Linked DNA regions of Homo sapiens: region 2 is linked to region 1. Evidence: promoter capture Hi-C in 16 types of primary human blood cells and fetal thymus (Javierre and others, 2016). All regions are on one chromosome and are shown on one strand. The core of a region is centred on a gene start or on the middle of the fragment in contact, and the rest is flanking DNA. Distances in the headings are between cores, read along the strand shown.

Region 1 (3,787 bases), core at 672-3,171:
TCCGGTGATCAGTCCGCCTCGGCCTCCCAAAGTGCTGGGATTACAGCAAACCTCACTCAATCATCCCAGCTGGGTTAAGTATCCCTTTGTAGACTTCAACTCATTGCACTGCTAATTTCTTGTTTATTTACTTACTCTTCAATTCTGAAAAAAAGTAGGACCTTTATCTTGTTTAGTATTCTATCCCCAAGTGCCCACACAGTGCATCACAGAAAACAAGATGCTCCACAAATGTTTAATTTATTAAGTGTGCCAGGGTATACTGCTAACTCATTGCATTTTAATTTTTCTCTAGATACTCAAATAGCTAAGCAAATGAAGGTACATGCCAGTCTTTCTTCTTTTATACACAACAGACAAAAGTGTTGGGGGGCTAGACACCAACCAGCTATTTTTTTCCCCTGGAACCAGATCATCATACTGCTGAGTTCCTTCAAACCATCAAAGTACAGCCTTCCTTCCAATGTTGCATAATCTGTTCAAAATCACAGTATAAATACAAAGTTCTTCCATCCATTTTACAAAACCAGCAAAACTCTACAATAAAATCCTACAGGAAAAAGTAGACCAATCTCATTTACAAACAGCATTTTAACAGTAATTATTAAATGTTACAAAACATAAGATACAAAATCTAAATCCTTAAAGTCACACGATTTCTACAGAAATAAGACCCTCGCCCCACCCATATTACTTATGACTCAGGACAGTAGTTCGTCCTCACGGGGACCCACTGGCCAACTTTTCACCAACCCTCACCAGAGGTGGATGCCGGCCCTAGCACTGGCCCTGGCCCTCATACTGGCTTCAGCTCTGGCCTTGGCTCTGGCCCTGTCGGCCTCGTCTGCTAGGGCCTCACGGTACTGCACTGGCCAGTGCTGCGGTTCCTTCTTATGCAGTTTGGCCACGAACCCCAGGACTTCCATCTTGCTGATTTCCAGGTTGCTTCGGGGACCCCAAGAGAATTCATATTCTGGTGGATTGGTGTGAGGCACCCGCCTGTAACTGAGATATCGCTGCTGCACAAAATCTTCCATAATAAGCCTCTTCGGATACCCAAAGAGGAAATGATACTTTGAGGGTTGCACCCCCAACCGACGCAGCATCTCCCAGACCTGGGCCTCCCTGGCGCTATTACCTCTCATATAGATAAGGCCCAGGATCATCATTAACAGACCCAATCTGGGGCCATCTCCTCCCAGATCCTCCTCCTCCTCCTCCTCCAGAGGTTTTAGTTTGTTGATCAGGATGTAAGTGTGGTGCTTGCGGTCAAACTGTTTCAGCTCAAAACCAAAGACATACCGCAGATGCTCTGCGGCCCTTGCGATGATGTCCGGGAACAGAATCTTCAAGTCTCCAATAACGTATTTCACCATCTCCGAGCGTGTGATGGGACTCTTCTTCTTGTCTTTCACCAGGAGGAACTGCACCAACTCCGCCACCGTCCGATTCAGCCGGCGGTAGGCCCTGCGCCTTGCCAAGGCTTTGGCCGCCAAGGCCCTCGCGCCTTTCCGGGTGAGGGCGGGCTCCGCAGCCCCCTCCTCCCTCCCGGCGCCAAGCTCCTCCTTGGGGCGCTCCTGCGAGGCGGTCGGGGCCCGGGTCTCACCATCATGGCCGCCATCCTTCTCCCCCTCGGCCTGCGGGACCGGGAGCCCCCTGCTCTCTGGTGTCTGCAACATGTTTTCGGGCAGGCAGGTGCAGAGCGCGTACACGGGCCGAGGGGTGTGGGAGCCGCCGCGCAAGCCCCGGGGGAGGGGTTGGACAGCGGCAGTGACGGCGGGAGTACAAGGAGCAATGGCAGCGGGAGCTTTGTGGCTGCTGGGCCGCACCGCACGGGAGTCAAACCTGCGGCCGCAACGCCGCCAGCAGCCGGAACCTGCGGCGCGCAGCCTCAGTCCGCGCCCGCGCGAGGGGCCACTTCCGGCCACCTCAGCCAGGACGGCGACCCTAGTGCCGCGCGCAGCCCCTCCTTTTCCGGTCCCTTCTGGGTTGGGGGTGTGCCCAGGCTGCTATAAGTGGAAATGCCCTGGAGGGTGGGGACGGGGGTGCGCCCTGTGACGGATTTTAGGCTTGAAAAGTCGGGGGCGGGGGAATGTAACCAGGACTCTCCCATCCAAGGCATGCAGACTGGGGAATGTTTCGGTGTACAAGAGATGAAATAGGGATGGAGTGCCCCCCACGTTCTTTCTGCAAGTGCCTATTTGTGAGTGTGTGTATCTGGGATTTTCAGTGCTTTACCGGGGCTCTTGTGCAGAGTGCACGGTGAAGGCTGCGAGGTAAGACTGTGCGAACCAATTAGTAAAGGATGCTAGGGAGACTGAAATTTATTCTGGACGTAAAGAGAAAATACTGCAGCGGGATTTAAGCAAGTGAGTGTCCAGACCAGATCTGTGTCTTCGGTTCTGGCGGTATTGTGGAAGATAGATTGGAGTTCGGCCGGCTAAAAGCTAGAATCCAGTTTGGAGGATTATTATAGTGCAAACTAGGAACTGGGACCCGGCCTATTTACTGGGTTGTATCCTCGGTGCCTAGAGCAGTGCCTGACACGGAGAGGAACTCAATAAATATTCAATGGATCATTATGATGAGGGAGTAAGGACAGCAGATTCCATGGGGATAAGAGGAAAATACTGAGAAGTACAGCAGGAATAGGGACTGGTTGGAAGAAAGGGGAAGTTTGTTCTTTTTTTTTTTTTTTTTTGCGCAAGTCAAATTTGACTACTCCCATGTATTTCTTTTCTTTTTCTCTTTTTACACACTCTGAGCTTTCTTCTGCTTCTTGCTCCTTCCTTCCTTCTTTCCTTCCCTCCTTCCTTCCTTCCTCCCTCCCTTCCCTCCTTCCCTTCCTGCCTTCCTTCCTTCCTTCTTTCCTTCCTTCCTTCCTTCCTTCTTTCCTTCCTTCCTTCCTTCCTTCTTCCCTCCCTCCCTCCCTTCCTTCCCTGTCAGAAATGCCCTCTCTATCACCTCCATTTCTCCAAATCCTGTCCACTATTCAGGGCCCAGTTTAAACATCACCTTCCCAAGCCTTCCTTAGTCACCACGCATAGAAGTTATTTACTGTCATCTCTGAATCACCTTAGCAATTGTTAACATCCACATATATAGGCTTTATTAGGTGCCAGGCTCCGTTCTAATCACTTTTCAAATATTAATTCATCAGATTCTCACTAATGTAGGTACTAATACCATCATCCCCATTTTATAGATGATTGTATCTTTTCTGTGACACAGTTTGCTACTTACTAGCTATGTAATCTTGGGCAAGTTACCTAAACTTCTGCCCTTCTGTTACCTTATCAGTAAAATGAGTATAATAGTAGTAACAGCATTGTGGAGATTATGTGAAGTAATGCACATAAGCATTTAACACAGTGCTTGGCACATATTGATATTCAATACATGTTAGCTGTTAATTAATGCATATTTTTATATGCAATATACAATATTAGAATTGCAAGATGAACTGTCCTGGAATGCCTAGCACTCTGTGGAGATGCGGAGGAGGTGTCCTGGGACATAGCACTGAACCGGGTCAGTACTCACCCATTCTGTGACCTTGTACAGGATGCTCAAACACCCTGGGCCACTTTTTTCTGATACTGTAGCCCTGCTAGGTAAGTGGTATTAGCCCCATTTTCCAGGTGAGGTTACACACAAGGAGGTTAAGTAACTTGCCCAACATCACACAGCTGGGATGTGAACCCATATAGTATGACTCCAGAGACTGTGCTCTTAACCACTACATTCATAGATGTTAATTATTATTATTATCATTTACTATATTTTG
Region 2 (3,787 bases), core at 729-3,228, 140 kb before region 1:
TGGGCTGAAGCCTTGCTGCTTCTGTCTTTAGTTGTTTTGTGTTTCTGTTTTTTGTTTTGGCTTGTTTTTTTCTGTTGTTTGTTTGTTTTCTGGGTCTCAATGACACTTTTGCTCCCAGGGTGCTATGGGGCCTGGCCCTCCACCAGGGCAGGTGGTAGGCCCTCAGCTGGTGCCCCTCCCACAGGCCAGGGTGCCCATGATGTCCTCCTCATGCCCTGCTCAAGGTCCTCGACCTGCAAGCGGAAGAGCCTTGCCCAGAGCTTCTGAAGCCAAATCTCTTCAGGGAGCTACCCTCTACCAAGGGCTCAGGGGCCCTGGAGACAGTGCCATTGTGCTGGCAGGGAAGTGGCTTGTTACTTGGGCAGCGGCTATACCTGGGGAGGCCGCACCCAGCCACACCCAGAATCATCTTCATGCCCCTGCTCCACCCCAGCCTCGTGACCTGACTGACAGCTCCTGCCCAAGCCAGGACAACAGGAAGCAGGGCTGGGGCTGTTTCCCTACACCTCTGGCTAAGGCTGCCCCAGCACCTCTGCTTCCCTTGCAAGAGTGGCCCATGTGGCTGCCCTGCCTGAGCGAGAGGCACCAGAGTGTTGGGGGCAGGATGAGGGGTACCACCCTCTCCCAGTAACTCTTCCTCTACCCCACTGGAAGACATCCCATAAACAGAACCATGCTTGCAGGGTGTGTGTGTGTGTGTGTGTGTGTGTGTGTGTGTTGCGGGTGCATGGAGGATGCACCTCTGAGGCTTTACACAAATCTAGGTATTGATACTTACACCATGTCAGGGTGCTCCTTTGCAGGGGCTGTGGCATATTTCAGTGTCATTGGACATCTGTGACTTTGCAGCTGATTGTAGTTTGTGTGACTAAAAGCATGTCGCCAAGTCTATACAGGGAAACTGGTGTTTGTGTTTGCACTTTACACCGAAGACTGTGTGACTTGCAGCTGGTGATAGCATGTGCAATTGGGTGTGTAAGGAGAACATACTGCAGGGTTGGGGGTGAGTGCCCTCTGTGTGCGCATATGTTTCAGGAAATCTGCACATAGGTAGGCTGGAAGCGTGGGTCCGCCTAAGGCAAGCCAGATCTCTGTGTAGGAAAGATTCACTGTATATGAATGTCTAAGGAAGACTAATCTGTTTGTACCATATGCATCCGTGTGTCTGAGAAAGACAGACCATGGCTCTGTGTGAAGCTGGGTGTGTGTTTGTGGGCGGCTGTGGCTTTGTGTGTTTTTGTCCACCATATGTGTTGACTTGTCACTCTTTAGCCCCAGTGGCGGGGAGTGAGCCCAGCCCCCAGGACTGGATGCTGCGCGTGCATCTGTGTGTTTGTGCATGGGTGAGGGCCACACAGCTGCTGCCACGTGGCTGCTCTCCATGGCCCTGTGGAAACCTGAAAGAGGTATTGCTTAGCTCCTGAGCATCAAAGCTCCAGTCCCCGAAAGACCCCAGGCCTGGTGACTACCTCCCTGGTGACTTTGCTGGGCAGTTGTGGTTTCCTGCCTGACACAGCCCAGTGTCTAGGGTGGCCAGCCTCTTCTCCCCTCTGCCTCCTGCAGATACATGGCAGGACGGCGAGGGATGGGGTGCAGCAGGCAGCTGGGGGAGTTGAGAACTTGCTCACTCACTCCTCTTTTGTCTTTACCCGCTGCCCCTCATACCCCCGTCCCAACGTGTGTATGTACAACACACGTACACACACGTGCACACACATGCACACGCCGCACACACAGCACAGAAAAGGTGGGCTGGGTCTCTTTCTCCCAATACCACGGACAGATGGGTTCTATGACCCCCCCCCCACATCCCCCTCACCTCCTGCCGAAGGCAGGGACCAGGCACCCCAGGGCTGAGGAGGGCCTTGCCCCGTCCTCTGTGCCTGGGCAGGCTGAAGGGAGCAGGCTCCTCCTCTCCCCCTGAGAAACGGGGAAACCGAGAGCACGCGGCCCCCTCCCCACCGGAGTGACCGAGCCCTTCCTCGGGCACACATGACTCGAAACCCAAGTCCTCTCTTCATTAATGGGAAAAATGTGGCGAGATTGAGCGATGGCCAAGGCTGAGCGATGGCCAAGGGCCGATCCCCTCCCTCCCTCCCTCTCTCGCTCCCCAGAAATTAAACAGAAATGAAGAGCCTCCCTGCCTCCCTCGCTCCCTCCCTCCTTCCCGCCGCCGCCTCTCCGCCGTCCCCTCCCTCCGCTCCCTCCTCCCGGAGCCAGCGCAGGGCTTGTTTTAAACTGTGGAGGAATCTGGCTGGAGGGGGAGGGGGCTGAATATTTGGGTTTAAACAGTTCCAGATGGGTTTGGCACAGGCTGAGCAGAAGGAAGTGAGGGAGAGGGAGGAGGGAGGCGGCGCGAGGGAGCGGCTGGAGCCCCGGCCTGCTCCGGCGGGCGGACCGGCGGGCGGACCGGCGGGAGGACTGGCTGCGGGGGCAGGGCGCGCTTGCTCTGCCGGCTCCCGGGACTGACACTCGCGCTGCCGGCTGGGGACGAGGCCGCCTGGCAACCTCCCTCTGTCCCTGTCTCCTCGGGCCTCCGCGTCTCTCGGTCTCCCTGTCTTTGTAGTCAGCCGCCGGCCATCCCGGCTGTCGGATCCCCGCCAGCCGGCTCCGCACATCCCTCCGGCTCCGTGCCGCCCACCGCCCGCCAGCTCCAGTCGCTGCCCCGCCCGCCTCCCTCCCCGCCTGTCTCTGTGGGCCCCGGCTTCTGAGCATCTCGGCTTCCCTCGAGTACCCCCCAGGCCGAATGTCTGTGTCTGTCTGTCTGTCTGTCTGTCTGCCAGAGGCCAGGATCGCTCCCCTTACAGCCGGGCCCTCAGGGGACCAGGGGCTGCGGCAGCGGGAGGAGCCTCCCTCCCTGCAGTGAATGGCTGCTGCCTGCAGCCCCTTTGCCTGACATGGCGGGGGGCTGGGGTCACAGCTGCCTTGTCCACCCACGGGGTCCTCCGCCGTCCTCGGCTCAGACCCAGCCTCCGGGAAACCACTGAAGGCTGCAAGCCTGTGGCCGCGGGGTTTGGGCTTTTCCCCACTTGGGCACCCAGAGGGGATGATGTAGAGGCCTCCAGAGGTCCTGGGGCAACCCTGCCCCATTCCAGCTTCAGAGCTGGCTGCACTGTCTTCCAGGCCACGGGAAAGGAGTTGGCACCTCTTTCCTTCCTTTCCTGACCCAGGTCTAATCTGGGGGTCACACTGTCTTTCAGAGAGTAGGGACATCCAGCCAGAGCGCAGAACCAGGTTCCTAAGGGAGCAAGTGTATGTCAGAAACATTAACGGGCCCCTCCTATGACCAAACAAGGTGAAACAGACAAGAAACCAGCTCAGAACACAGGCCGGGTACTGTGACAAAGCCCCTGGCCCTAGATGCACAAAGGAGGGCATCTTACCCTGACTTGGAGGTTCACGGAAGGCTTCCTGGAGGAGGCAACAGCTCTGTTGGGACTTAAATGATAGGCAGTTTTCTAGGCTTTCTTTCATCCCTCCTTTACAGAGGGGCATATTGCAGTCAGAGTGCAAGGGATTAATTATAGAGTCAGATACACCTGAACCTGATCCACCCTTGTCCCCTCACCCCAAGTCCTAGCAACTTCACCTTAGGCAGTGTATTTTCTTTGTCTGGGCATCAGTGTTCTCTTCTGTAAAAGGGATACACCAACAGTACCTTCTTCCAAGGATTGCAGGAAGAATTGAACTAAGAGCTGGTTTGGGGCTTTGGTGGTCCCCTCTCCACCCTCAAAGCGCATCCCTGCCCCATCACCTGTAGGTGCTGCGTGGGAGCTGGCTCTGGCCT

What was found. The method cuts DNA at HindIII sites, captures the fragments that hold promoters and counts their contacts. A CHiCAGO score of 5 or more calls a contact.
Region 2: a fragment that was not itself captured here is called in contact with the fragment with the promoter of MAGEF1 in region 1 in 3 of 17 cell types (M0 macrophages, non-activated CD4 T cells and monocytes); the score reaches 6.2 in M0 macrophages.

What each region holds. Positions count from the first base shown.
Region 1 is chr3:184,710,143-184,713,929 of GRCh38, forward strand. MAGEF1 (MAGE family member F1) reads right to left here and starts at 1,922. Exons shown (of 1, transcript NM_022149.5): 1 at 222-1,922. The coding sequence starts at 1,679. The coding sequence ends at 756. LOC107986163 (a long non-coding RNA gene) reads left to right here and starts at 2,101. Exons shown (of 5, transcript NR_160768.1): 1 at 2,101-2,276. RefSeq lists an enhancer at 1,122-1,181. The HindIII fragment of the contact is 12,590 bases long and covers 1-3,787 here.
Region 2 is chr3:184,566,797-184,570,583 of GRCh38, forward strand. The region is part of intron 1 of EPHB3 (EPH receptor B3); the gene reads left to right. Among named protein-coding and RNA genes, the nearest start is that of EPHB3, 6.9 kb to the left of the region's middle. RefSeq lists enhancers at 1,056-1,570, 1,571-2,083, 2,426-3,372, 3,373-3,787. The HindIII fragment of the contact is 9,394 bases long and covers 1-3,787 here.